2 separate regions of the Homo sapiens genome follow, and region 1 is linked to region 2. Evidence: promoter capture Hi-C in human tissues and cell types (Jung and others, 2019). All regions are on one chromosome and are shown on one strand. The core of a region is centred on a gene start or on the middle of the fragment in contact, and the rest is flanking DNA. Distances in the headings are between cores, read along the strand shown.

Region 1 (6,848 bases), core at 943-3,442, 130 kb after region 2:
ATGTCTGCAACAAATCCTGGTGGGATATAAATTATCACAAGTTTTAATGTACTAGGAGAGAGAGGGTACCTGGACTTTTCCTCATCTTTTCTGTTGTGAGTTACTGACTGAACATGTGTCAATCAACTTCCCACCACAGCAGAGGTAACATTTTAAAGGCCCAGCTAAGGAGCAAGCATGACTTGTTCCTGTGGAGGCACCAGATGGGTAACTGGGCCCATGGCAAATGAAGAGGAAGGGACTGTGATGTCCTGGAGCAGAGCCACGCTGGGCTGAACCAGTGGTGGATGGGTGTGACTGAAAAAGCAAGTCCAGCCTTTAGGTGCCTGGACTTTGAAGTCAAGGCTGGCTGGTGGAGAACAACTGTTTCAAAACCAGGCATCAGAATTAGATTGAAGTTAAAAAAAAAAAAAACCCAGAAAGAAAGAAAGACACAGCCAGGCACGGTGGCTCATGTCTGTAATCCCAGCACTTTGGGAGGCCAAGGCAGGGGGAATCATGAGGTAGGAGTTCAAGACCAGCCTGGCCAACGTGGTGAAACCCCATCTCTACTAAAAATAAAAAAATTAGCTGGGTGTAGTGGCAGGCGCCTGTAATCTCAGCTACTTGGGAGGCTGAGGCAGGAGAATCGCTTGAACCTGGGAGGCAGAGGTTGCAGTGAGCAGAGACTGTGCCACTGCACTCCAGCCCGGGTGACAGAGTGAGACTCTGTCTCAATAAATAAATAAATAAATAAATAAATAAATAAATAAATAAAGCACAATACTTACTTGGACAGTATTGTCAACAGACCATATTTCTCTCTATCTACCTCTTTTAACTTCAGATAATGCAAATTCTTGTGAAAATTACATTTTTATAAGAAAGCAAAGTTACATGAATTGTAAATATTATGTTTGGAGATGATGCTGGTGATACTTAACTGGAATAAATCCTGCTATTGGGCACTAATGCCCCAAGTTGTTAATACTGGAGGTTTTTTTGCTTGTTGGCATCTATCAGGAATGTAGACCTCAGAGATCATAAAAATAGAAAACCCAGATTCCAGGGGATGTTCTACACCAACCCAGCTTAGCTCAGCAACACAGCATCTTTTTTTCTTCCTTCTTTTTTCTCCTCTCCACATTCTCTGTCTGGAGTCTGCTCTCCGTGGGGATTTTTTCCCATGAAAAACTATGGAAGTGATTCCTCCCTCTTTCTTTTCCCCTCACTCCCTCAACTCCAGCCACAGGCCTTTGTGCTGCTCCTGGAATGTGCCAGGCATGTTCTTTCCAGGGGCCTTTGCATGGCCCTTCTTGTCCAGACTGCTGTCCCCAGACACCTGCCTGTCTCCCCAACTCCTTGCAGGCACTTGCTCAGAATTCAGCTTTGTGGGAAACCTTCCTTAATACGCCTTCCTTTTTTAAATAGTGTTGCCCATTCCTCTTTGCAGTTTTATTTTTCTTCACTGTACTTTAAAAAAATTATATATTTTATTTTCTAGTCTGTCTTCTCCCCTTCCCCCGACTAGGGTGTAGACTCCATGAGGGCAGACATTTTTATCTGTTTGGTCTGGTACAAGCTTAGGGCCTAGAAGAGTGGCTGGCACAGAAGAAGCATTGGATATACAAATCAATATTAAGGAAGTGTGAGAACTAATATTCACAACTTGTTCCTCCTTTTGGGTCCTCCTTCTTTAGACAGTTGTGTACCTCCAGTGTAGCCACAAAACTTTCCAGATGTGAAAAAATAGAACTATTTCAAAATCAATTGCAGAATATATATAGTACCCTTTGCAGATCCCAGATTGCAGTTCAACTCTCCATTCACCAGCCTTCCCTTGAATCAAAGATAATTTTTTTTTTTTTTTTTTTGAGATGGAGTCTCGCTCTTGTTGCCCAGGCTGGAGTGCAGTGGCGCGATCTCGGCTCACCACAACCTCCACCTCCCAGGTTCAAGCGATTCTCCTGCCTCACCTCCCTAGTAGCTGGGATTACAGGCATGCGCCACCATGCCTGGCTAATTTTATATTTTTAGTAGAGATGGGGTTTCTCCATGTTGGTCAGGCTGGTCTTGAACTCCTGACCTTAGGTGATCCACCCACCTCGGCCTCCAAAAGTGCTGGGATTAGAGGCGTGAGCCACCGCGCCCGGCCAAATCAAAAATATTTTTTAGGCCAGGTGCGGTGGCTCACGCCTGTAATCCCAGCACTTTGGGAGACCAAGGCAGGCAGATCACCTGAGGTCGGGAGTTCAAGACCAGCCTGGCCAACGTGGCAAAAACCCGTCTATACTAAAAAAAAATACAAAAATTAGCCAGGCGTGATGGTGGGCACCTGTAATCCCAGCTACTTGGGAGGCTGGGGCAGGGAGAATTGCCTGAAGCAGGGAGGCAGAGGCCGCAGTGAGCCGAGATCACGCCACTGCACTCCAACCTGGGCGACAGAATGAGACTCTGTCTCAAAAAAGATCCAGGTTAAATAGATTCATATTCATTTCAGCATATTTCATTATTCCAAACCACAGAAATAAAGTGTTTCACCAACAATTTAATTCACCCAATATTTACCAAGCTACTACCATGTGCCAAGCTCCCTGTGCTAAGCTTTGCAGGAAATACAAAGGAAAAAAGCAAAGTCCCTGTTCTTAAGTGCTTTAAGATTGAGAAGCAGGTAGAAGGTAGTAAGCAGAGGGAAACAGAAGGCAGAATCTGGTAGCTATTGGTTTTACGACAGAACTCATGCTCTGATGCAATCTCTGGCTCTTGTTTGCATAAGAACCAACACTTTTATGAAGAGGCTCTCATGACTACCCCAGAGGCTTCCACTGTCTTCCCTCCCAACCCAAGCCCTCACCCACCACAGGAAGGGAAGGGGGAAGTAAAAGGTCAAAGCAATACAGAGGGACATTGGGACCTTATGCTGCCCCAGCCTGTGGGAGGCCAGCCTCCATCCTGTTCAGTATTGCAGCTGACATGCAGGATAACACCTGTGAGGGAGGAGCCCATGGGGCGGGGATACCTACTCTGAACCCTGCCAAACTGCTACACCCCAGCTCCAGGAGCAAGGAGAAAGAAGTGCTAACAATGATTTTAATTGCTGGGCGTGGTGGCTCACATCTCTAATCCCAGCACTTTGGGAGGCCAAAGTGGGAGGATCACTTAAGGCCAGGAATTTGAGACCAGCCTGGGCAACACAGACCCTGTCTCTATTAAAAAGAAGTGGTGACGTGCTTATAATCCCAGCTACTCAGGAGGCTGAGGTGAGAGGACCACTTAAGCCCAGGAATTCAAGGCTACAGTGAGCTGTGATCATGCCGCTGCACTCCAGCTGGGCAACAGAGTAAAACCCTGTCATACACACACACACATATGCACACACATACATACACTAACTAGTACAATCAGTTGCTCTGGGAGATACCTCTCAGGGCCTCTTGTTTTTCCTAGTATGCAAGGTAAGGGTACCCTGGCCTTGGGGTGGTCAGTTCTGAAAGATAACCTGCACATTATGAGTTATTTCATAAGCAGTTTTAGAGAAAAGAAAAATATAAACAAACTTGTAGCACAGAAGCTAATCCAACTATTTTGTGAGCTGATTTTTTTTTTTTGTCTGATCTTTTTTTTTTTTTTTTTTTTGAGACAGAGTCTCACTCTGTCGCCCAGGCTGGAGTGCAGTGGCGTGATCTTGGCTCACTGCAAGCTCCGCCTCCCGGGTTCACACCATTCTCCTGCCTCAGCCTCCCAAGTAGCTGGGACTACAGGTGCCTGCCACAACGCCTGGCTAATTTTTTGTATTTTTAGTAGAGACGGGGTTTCACCATGTTAGCCAGGTTGGTCTCGATCTCCTGACCTCATGATCCGCCCGCGTCGGCCTCCCAAAGTGCTGGGATTACAGGCGTGAGCCACTGCGCCCGGCCTGATCTTTTTTCTTAACTATATGCTTATAAATGAGGAGGAAGGAATGAATATCATTAAGTGGTATTCACCCTTGCAAGATTCTCTATAGTGGCAAGGGCCAGGTTAGAAGATCTGAATGTAGGGGAGGTCCTAAAGGTGATGGCAGCAGCAGGGTGGGCAATCTGGAAAGACTGGGGAAGTGTTGTGTAGTACAGCTCTTAGACACAGGCAAGAGAAGCCCCTGGATATGGCCCCACATTCAGAGAGCCCCACTCTGGCCCTCTGCTACCCACATCCTTTCCCACAGAGCGAGGAGTGCGTGAGGCTGAGGGGAGGTGGTAACCCTGTGTCTGGGCCCCTCCACTCTAGACCAGACTCCAGGCACCCAGGAACCTGGAGTTCCCCACTCAGCTGACTCAGAGCTGCTGAGGTTTACACAACAAACTCGCACTTTGGCCCATCCTCCTAAAGGTGGACTGGCTGCCCTTGAGGGCCTTGCTAGGCCTGAGGGGTGGCCAAGAGGTGGGAGGATCACTTAAGCCCAGGACAAGCTCAGACAAGAGGCAGTTTGTGGCTGAGCCTGAATAAAAAAGTAGAGGTGTTTAATTGTGGGAGGCCCTTGGCAGTGCTGGAAGGAGCAAGAAACAGGAAGAAAAAGAGGTGAGTCTCAGGCTGAGGGCCGGGGACTGGAGGGAGACACCAGCTTTCTCTGTGCCGCCCCATTCAGGCCCAGAACTTCACACAGTGTGAGATTTTTTAATTTGAACTTGGTCTTCGAAGCCATACAAAGGGCAATCTCTCAAGGTGGGGGGATAGAACATATTTCAAGTTTGTTAGATTGATTTATTCCTTTTAAATATCTGGATCTCTGGTATGTGAGCCTCCATCTGTCATCTCAATTTAGCCATGAAATTTTAGGGATGATCCTGTTTTAGGGATGAAATGTTTTTGGAGGTGGGTTTTGAGGACTGGGAAGGATTTAGATGGGTCAGAATGGCAGGAGATAACAGGACAAAAGGCTTGGACATGGGCATCTGCAGACACCGGCAGGCAGAGTAGGGGAAGAAAGCCATTGTGGCTGCATACCTTCTATTTGCCAGCTTTTGGGGATGGCATGGGGTACGTAGCCTTCTCAGCCTGGGCTCCACCTCCCAGGCATCGCCTCTGCCCGTGACGCCTGTCACTGTGCTCCAGACGTCCCAGGCCATTTGGTTCCCATGCACGCCCCGCCTTCTCGAACCTCCTGCTTGCACATGTGGTCTCTGCCCTGCTCCCCCTGCCCGCCCTCCTGCATCCCCTCCCAGCCCCTCTGCCTACTCACCTCCTACCTGTCCCTGAGACCTCCCTAAGACATCACCTTCTCTGGAAGTCTCTCCTAAGGGCCCACACCAGCTTGGATCCCATAACACTGAGAGGTGACAGCGTGCTGGCAGTCCTCACAGCCCTAGCTCGCTCTTGGCGCCTCCGCTGCCTGGGCTCCCACTTTGGCGGCACTTGAGGAGCCCTTCAGCCCACCGCTGCACTGTGGGAGCCCCTTTCTGGGCTGGCCAAAGCCGGAGCCCGCTCCCGCAGCTTGCAGGGAGGTGTGGAGGGAGAGGCGCGAGCGGGAACCCGGGCTGCGGGCGGCGCTTGCGGGCCAGCTGGAGTTCCAAGTGGGCGTGGGCTTGGCGGGCCCTGCACTGGGGGCAGCCGGCCCTGCCGGCCCGGGCAATGAGGGGCTTAGCACCCGGGCCAGCGGCTGCGGAGGGTGTACTGGGTCCCCCAGAAGTGCCAGCCCACCAGCGCTGCAGCTCGATTTCTCGCCGGGCCTTAGCTGCCTTCCTGCGGGGCAGGGCTTGGGGACCTGCAGCCCGCCATGCCTGAGCCTCCCACCCCCTCCATGGGCCTCTGTGCGGCCCGAGCCTCCCCGATGAGCGCCACCCCTGCTCCACGGCGCCAGTCCCATGACCACCCAAGGGCTGAGGAGTGCGGGCGCACGGCGCGGGAATGGCAGGCAGCTCCACCTGCAGCCCCAGTGGGGGATCCACTGGGTGAAGCCAGCTGGGCTCCTGAGTCTGGTGGGGACGTGGAGAACCTTTATGTCTAGCTAAGGGATTGTAAATACACCAATCGGCACTCTGTATCTAGCTCAAGGTTTGTAAACACCAATCAGCACCCTGTGTCTAGCTCAGGGTTTGTGACTGCACCAATCGACACTCTGCATCTAGCTACTCTGGTGGGGACTTGGAGAACCTTTGTGTGGACACTGTATCTAGCTAATCTGGTGGGGACGTGGAGAACCTTTGTGTCTAGCTGAGGGATGGTAAACGCACCAATCAGTGCCCTGTCAAAACAGACCACTGGGCTCTACCAATCAGCAGGATGTGGGTGGGGCCAGATAAGAGAATAAAAGCAGGCTGCCCGAGCCAGCAGTGGCAACCGTCTCGGGTCCGCTTCCACACTGTGGAAGCTTTGTTGTTTCGCTCTTTGCAATAAATCCTGCTGCTGCTCACTCTTTGGGTCCACACTGCCTTTATGAGCTGTGACACTCATGGCGAAGGTCTGCAGCTTCACTCCTGAAGCCAGCGAGACCACGAGCCCACCAGGAGGAACGAACAACTCCAGACGCACCGCCTTTAGAGCTGTAACACTCACTGCGAAGGTCTGCAGCTTCACTCCTGAGCCAGCGAGAGCACCAACCCAACAGAAAGAAGAAACTCCAAACACATCCGAACATCAGAAGGAAAAAACTCCAGACGCGCCACCTTAAGAGCTGTAACACTCACCGCGAGGGTCCACGGCTTCATTCTTGAAGTCAGTGACACCAAGAACCCACCAATTGCGGACACACCACCACCCATAATGCCACCTTGAAACCACTTTGTCTCCGTCAGGCCCTAAGCTTCTTGGACAAGCGGAGAGAAGTTCAATGTGGGAACAGCAGGGAGGGCCAAACAGTTTTGTTTCATTTTGGTTTACTTTTAACCCTTATT
Region 2 (7,167 bases), core at 3,659-6,158:
TGTGTGGAGTGAAGCAGGTACTTCAGGCTGAAGGAATGCCTGGGCAAAGGCAAGGAGACAGGACTCGGTGCCACCAGTCAGGGAACTAGAAGCAACTCAATATGTTGAGGAAGCAGGGCAGGCTCTCGGGGCTGGGATGAGAGATGAGGCTGGAGTGACCCATGTGCCATGCAAAGGCTTTTGAGTTTTAACTCGAGGCCCTGTGCTTCCCCAGACTGACCGGGCCTCAACATCACCTGGGAATCCTGGAAGGAAACAGGTTCCTGGGCCTTGCTCCAACCTAAGGAACCCGAATCTGCATAGGTGAGGCCTCAGAATCAGCCTTCCCAGCAGCGCGGTGGGGAGTACAGGGGAGCCGCGGGAGGGTTTTGGGAGGGGGGAAGCAGCTACATGGTAGACCCTGCACGCGCCCTCGCTCCTCTGCTGGAGGAAGTGATGAGGGCAGGCCTGGGGCTGGCAATGGGATCCTCAGCAGTTGCTGCTCAGATCAGTTGCCTCCTTGGACCATGTTCCCATGAGCAAGACAGGAGCCACCAGGAAATGCAGGTTTCCATTTGGACAAGCTCCTTTAGGCTGGACAGTCGAGGGATGGTAGAAGTGTGCCCCCACCCCATTTCTGCCCCACTTTGCTCTAATGGTGTGAGTTGGAAGGACCATCTCCCTCACTTTTCCCTTCATCCTGAGTGAAACCTGGTTTCCACAGCTCACATGGCGCCGTATTTCCAACGTTCAGAGCACATTGGAAAGTTGGGAGGAAGGATGAGGCTTGTGTTTTCACTCACAGTAAGTCAAAGGGGCTTCTTGGGATGGTCCATTTCCCTAGTTGTTCAGCAGAGGAAGGGGCTTTGTGATCACTGTTTACATTGTATTTGTTTTCCTCCTAGAACTCCCTCCAGAAGATGATAATGAAAGTGTCTGACGCATAAGGAAATAAATAAGATGGTTATGTGCCCAGCTCAAGGGCTAAGGTGTTGGTCAAGACCACACCCGAGGGGCTGCCAGTCACAGGGTGGGGTCCAAGCTCCTCACCAGACCCAACCTCCCCTGCTCTGCAACCTCATCCTTCCCCTGTCTTTCCTGGGTTAAATTTTACACTTAGTAACACTGAAACCAGGCAGTTTCACACCTCCGAGCCTGCATCTATGCTCATCTCTTTACCTGAAACGTCTTCTCTCACCCCTCCCCCTCTGTCTGGCTAATTCCTGCTCATTCTCCAAGACCCAGTTCTCCGTGGTACCCCTTCTCACCCAACACACACCCCTCAATCTAGCCTTTTCTGTGAGCAACCTACACCACCTTATGCTGACCTGGTTGGGAGCACATATATAGAAAGTTTGTGTGCCTGCCCCTCCCCAACTCCCCAGTTCCTCAAAAGTAGGGTCTGTGGTGCTAAATTTTGTCTCTGCAGTCTCTGACATATCTAGGAGCTCAACATATATCTGCTAAATCAAACAGAATCCAGATGAACAAGAATGCCCTCGACATGTAGATGTCACAATTCAACAGCATTCTAAGGGTTTGCTCGTGCTCATGGGTATCTTTAGGACAGGTGGCTTTTAAGGCCTCAATATAGATGTAACACCCTACTCCCCTCGCACAAAAAACAAAAAAACAAAAAAAACTTTAACCCAAATAAACTGAAAGTGATTATTTGCATCTCAAAAGATTGGGGGGAGGCAGGTTTTCTTTAAACATTAAACCTTTGCTGGAACTTTCAGAAACTTTCCTTATAGATCATTAACTTCTGGGGGAGGGTGGGAGCAGAAGCCGTGGAGTCTGAATTCAGAGGTGCCTCTATAAAAGAGGAAGCAAGGCAGAAAATCTTGGAACCAGACAGAGCTGGGTTCAGATTCTAGCTATACTAGCTGTGTGGCCTTGGGCAAGCTACTTAACCTCTCTGCAGCTCGATTTCTTTATCACTAAAGTGGAGATACACTATACCTATTTTGCATGGTTGTTGTAAAGATGCAAAAGATCCTATGTGGGGTACCTTAGCTCATAGGATGCCCCCAATAATAGTAACAGTGTTGCTGCTGTCAGGCTTAACACTGGGCATGCAGGAGAAGAAGGAGTCTTGAGGGGCTTTTAACTTAGACGGCAGGAATAAGAAAGCCAGGAAGGGCCAAGCCACTGTGCCAGCACATTTTCAGTATCACAGCACTTCATGATTTTTTTCACAAATCTTTTGATTTTTTTTTAAACTAAATCTTTCCATGTTGAACAGGCAGATGCTGGCGACAGCACTGTGCAGTGTACTGGCATGAGGGCCTGGACTCTAGGAGGCTGGACTACAGCTTACCCAGCTGTGGATCCTGGGGCGTTCACTTACACTCAGTGTCTATAGAAAGGAGACAATAGGCCAGGCGTGGTGGCTCACACTTGTAATCCCAGCACTTTGGGAGGCCCAGGCGGGCAGATCATGAGGTCAGGAGATCGATGCCATCAAGGCTAACACGGTGAAACCCCATCTATACTAAAAATACAAAAAATTAGCCAGGCACGGTGGTGGGCACCTGTATTCCCAGCTACTTGGGAGGCCGAGGCAGGAGAATGGCGTGAACCTGGGAGGCGGAGCTTGCAGTGAGCCGAGATAGCGCCACAGCACTCCAGCCTGGGTGAAAGAGCGAGACTCCGTCTCAAAAAAAAAAAAAAAAAAAAAAAAAGAAAAGGAGACAATAGCCACTGCCTACTTCTTAAGGCTGAAATACGAGATAATGAATTTAAACTGCTTAGCCAATGCCTGGTGCCAGTATGCCCACTGCAAATAGTGCAGGCACCACTCTGTGAAGCGATCAATACTAAAAAGCAAAAGCAGTCAATGCTTTGTTAAAGGAACTTCTTGTTCTGGGAACATGGTGAGTTTCGGGGAGGGAAGAGGCCACCCAGGACCCTGGAGACCACCTGTCACCAGAGCTGTGTAACTGCTACAGGAGAGGTGTCCCAATCCAGACCACAAGAAAGGGTTCTTGCATCTCTCGCAAGAAAGAATTCAGGGCAAGGCTGGGCGTGGTGGCTCATGCCTGTAATCCCAAACTTTGGGAGGCCGAGGCAGGTGGATCACTTGAGGCCAGGAGTTCGAGACCATCCTGGGCAACATGGTGAAACCCCATCTCTACTAAAAATACAAAAAGTAGCCAGGCGTGGTGGTGCATGTCTATAGCCCCAGCTACTCAGGAGGCTGAGGTGGGAGAATCCATCGCCCCACTGCCCTCCAGCCTGGGCAACAGAGCAAGACTCTGTCTCAAAAAAAAAAAAAAAAAAAAAAAAGCAAGGTGCGTTCACAGTGCAAAGCAAAAGCAAGTTTAGTAAGAAAGTAAAGTGGTGAAAGTACAGCTACTCCATAGACAGAGGAGGGAGTTCTGGAAAGTACGAGGAGGAACGCATCCACCCTGGGTACAATACTCGCTTACACAGGATAAAAAAGGATCATGGGGAGATGTGCTGTGCTACAAGGGTTTGTGATAAAGGATTAATTTTCTTAGTTACTATATTTTGCAATAATCGATATTATTAACTTTAAAGCATAATTACAAATGAGTCTGTTCTCAAGATATCAGGATATCAGGACACTCCTAAGTCTGGGTCTGTTTAGCAAACGTTATTAATTTGTTCTCTTAACCGTAAATATCTAGAAGCTGGGTATAGCTAACTCACTGGGAATGTGGCCCAGCAAGTCCCAGCCTCATTTTCCTCGCCCTCACACAAGATGGAGTCGCTCTGGTTCGAAGCCTCTGACGTAACCTTGGGCCTGTACTGTGACACAGAGGGTTTGCACTGGATAATCTCTCAAGCTCCTAGATTGCCAAGACGCCAGTCCACTCACAGCTCCCCAGGCTCCGCTCTCCTGTTGCCCTGCCAGACGCCCCTTCCCCCACCTTGTGCAGAGTAACCCCCTCCTGACTCAAGAGGCAGCCCCTCTAGAAAACTTCCTTCCCCTCCTCCCCTGCCCCGGTACATATTGCGCGGCCCTTACTGTTGCTGTGTCTGTCCTGTCATCTGGAGGTGCACAACTACCCCATGCTTCACAGTGAAGCCAGTCGGCTGAAGGAAAGATGAACGGGCACTTTCTCTTTGTAGAGATTTCCGGAATCTCCTGAGGCCACTTTTATTGCTTCCCGTCTTTGTGAAAAAATAGGCTTGGAAATAGGTGAGGCTCGGTCACCCCCTCTGGGTGGAAGGAGAAAGCAAGCTCCGTCGGTTTGGGCCGCGGCTGCAGGGAATGCCCCTGGTTGCGACCCCCGTCCCGCGCTGGGGAAAGTGATCTGCTCGAGAGCCCCCAGGACCCTGAGAACCGGTCCCCACCCAAGGCGGCGGCGGGCAATTCCGGCACCGCGGCAGACGGGATGCGCGGAGCGCGTTCCCTCCGGGTTTCCCTCACGCCTCTGGAGAGCGGGAACCAACGACCTTGACCTCGGAGGAAACGGCTCTACGGAGCGATGGACGGCCCCACAGAGAGGGCGGCCGGCTCCTCTGGAAAACTTGTCCACACAAAAGGCATTCCTCAGCTTCCACCCCGAAAGGCGAGCCCTGGGTGTAGGGTTACCAGCGGCGCGCGGAGCCCGCCGAGAACGTGGTGCGCCCCCAGCTCCTGCCCGCGCTCCCCGGCCTCCGTGCGCCCCGCGCGCCTCCGCTCTTGCGCCCGCTTTCCCGCGGGGAAGGGGCCACCGCCCTGCGAGGCTGGCGGCCGCCCCGTCGTCCCCAAGCTCGGGGCCGCCCTGGACTTCCATCCCGCGCCTCTGACGGCCGGGGACACTCGCTCCCTGGGCCGCGGCTCAGGAGAGGCGGCCCCGCGGGGCTCCGGGCGGGGTGGGAGGCCGAGGCCCGGCTCCTCCAGCCCCTCCCGCGGCCCCACCTCTCCGCGCTCGGCTCCCTCTGCCCAGCGCGGGCCGGGAAGGCGCGGGCTTGGCCGCTCTTCCCCTCCACGGCAAAGCCGTGAACGGACAGCTGATGCCACTTCCTTCCCTGCCAGCGCCCTCCCTGCCCGACCCCGCTTCCCGTCCTCTCGCCGGGAGGGAGTGCGGCCCGTGGGGCGCTGCGCCGGCCAGACCCACCCGGGGCCCGGGGGCTGCCAGCAGAGCCGGGAGCTGGCCCGGCCTCGGCGCCGTCCCGGACCCCCAGTCGGCCGCGCCCCGAGGGGCGAGGCCTGCGGGCCGCACTCCCTCCGGCCCCGGATTCGGGGCTGGAAGTCCCTCCCCGAACCCAGCAGCTGGCCTGGGAGGGAGAAGGGGCTGGAGAGGGCCTGGCCTCTCCGAGGGATGGAGGGGACAGAGGCGGCGGCGGCCAAACCCGCGGGCGGCAGCCCCCAGTGAGTATAGAGGAGGCAGCGCCGGGCCGGCCGGGCGGGGGTGGCGGACCGGCGGGGCGGAGGAGCGGGGAGCCCAGGTCGCCCCGGCCACTGGGAAGCGGGCCTCCCACGGGCTCGGAGCTGGAAGGGTCGTGGGGAGGCCCGCCCTTCACGTCCATCTTCGTTTGGCCCCTCTGAGTTAGGGGAAATACATCACAGTGCTTGGGCCATAGAACCAGGCAGCTCCGAGCTGACCGATCTTCCCGAAAGCCCGTGCCCAGGGGACTCCAGTGGGAGGGTCTCATTCTTTAAGGTCTCTGGCGTGCTGTTCCAGAGTTTACCCATCAACAATTCTTACTTTAATTTTTTGGAGCCAGGGTCTCGCTCTGTCGCCCAGGCTGGAGTGCAGTGGTGCGATCATGGCTCACTGCAACCTCGACCTCCCGGGCTCAAGCCCGGCCTCCTCTGGCTTCAGCCTCCCCAAAAACAAAAAGTTATTTTAACTTAACAGAAATTGCTCATATTACATTCTAATCCCCTGTTTTCTGGATTGGACTTTAGAGGAGAAGAAGGAGATGCAAAGAGAAACTTGCTGCATTCTAGATTAACTCATAGAACAAATTATTTCTGTCCTCCTAAAGATAATCCTTAAACTTTACTGGCTTAAAACTGGTGTGACATTTCGCATTATATGTGTATTTTGCTTTATAAAATATGTGCATTCCTGAAAGCTTGTGTATAAATTGAATTGTAATAAACGACTACAGAGAGACTTGCCATTTAAGAGAATTTTATGGTGAATACTTGGTCCGTGTTACGAAGTGGATAACTCCTAATTTGTAGTGTATACACATAAGGATTTTTATGCACAAAGTTTACTTCAAGGGGGGGGGGACATCTAGATGTGTGATATTAAAGTTGTATTTTTCTCAGAAGGTAGAATCAATATTAAAACGCTGTGGCATGTAGATATGCATGCAACACCCTGAGTCAAACCCCTGCTCACCTTCATTCCTTGTGAAGGGATAAACATCAGCCATGCTGCTAAGGATCTGTGCAGCGCTGACAAGCCACCTAGCCTCTGGGGATGGAACATTATCATTTACAGAATAAGGGGAGTAGGGTTAAGTGATCACTACATGTTTTGGAAAAGGCCTGGGCTTGGAATGAGAAGCTTTGGTTTCCAAACTGGGCCTCCTCTTAGCACCTGTGTATTGTAATCTGTGCCTCAGTTTCTCCATCTGTAGAAGTATATAATAAAGCCATTCTTTCTTTTCTTTTCTTTTCTTTTTTTTGAGACAGAGTCTCGCTCTATCGCCCAGGCTGGAGTGCAGTGGCGGGATCTCGCCTCACTGTAACCTCCGCCTTCTGGGTTCAAGTGATTCTCCTGCCTCTGCCTCCCAAGTAGCTGGGACTACAGGCACCTGCCACCACACCCAGCTAATTTTTTGTATTTTTTATTTTTATTTATTTTTTTTATTTTTGAGACAGAGTCTTGCTCTGTCGCCCAGGCTGGAGTGCAGTGGTGCAATCTTGGCTCACTGCAACCTCTGCCTCCCGAGTTCAAGCAATTACCTTGCCTCAGCCTCCTGAGTAGCTGGGACTACAGGTGAGCAGCACTCCTGACCTCAGGATCCACCCGCCTCGGCCTCCCAAAGTGCTGGGATTACAGGTGTGAGCCACCGCGCCTAGCCAATTTTTTGTATTTTTAATGGAGGAGGGGGTTTCACCATGTTGGCCAGGCTGGTCTCGAGCTCCTGACCTCAAGTGATCCACCCGCCTCAGCCTCCCAAAATGCTGGGATTACAGGTGTGAGCCACCGCTCCTGGTCAATAATGCCATTGTGTTAGGGACAGGATTATTGGGGGGAGTGTGTTTGAAAG

What was found. Contacts are between HindIII fragments. The study calls those that stand out against the background at their distance.
Region 1: a fragment that was not itself captured here is called in contact with the fragment with the promoter of KIAA1614 in region 2 in 1 of the 25 tissues and cell types used here (bladder).

The regions. Positions count from the first base shown.
Region 1 is chr1:181,040,367-181,047,214 of GRCh38, forward strand. All of the region lies in intron 1 of MR1 (major histocompatibility complex, class I-related), which reads left to right. Among named protein-coding and RNA genes, the nearest start is that of MR1, 9.8 kb to the left of the region's middle. RefSeq lists enhancers at 3,977-4,116, 4,237-4,476, 5,795-6,297 and a silencer at 4,528-4,677. The HindIII fragment of the contact is 4,523 bases long and covers 1-4,454 here.
Region 2 is chr1:180,907,989-180,915,155 of GRCh38, forward strand. It overlaps KIAA1614, which reads left to right and starts at 4,909. Exons shown (of 9, transcript NM_020950.2): 1 at 4,909-5,305. The coding sequence starts at 5,256. LINC02816 (long intergenic non-protein coding RNA 2816) reads left to right here. Exons shown (of 4, transcript NR_185877.1): 2 at 215-303; 3 at 704-783; 4 at 885-6,068. RefSeq lists a silencer at 4,705-5,004. The HindIII fragment of the contact is 13,277 bases long and covers 1-6,236 here.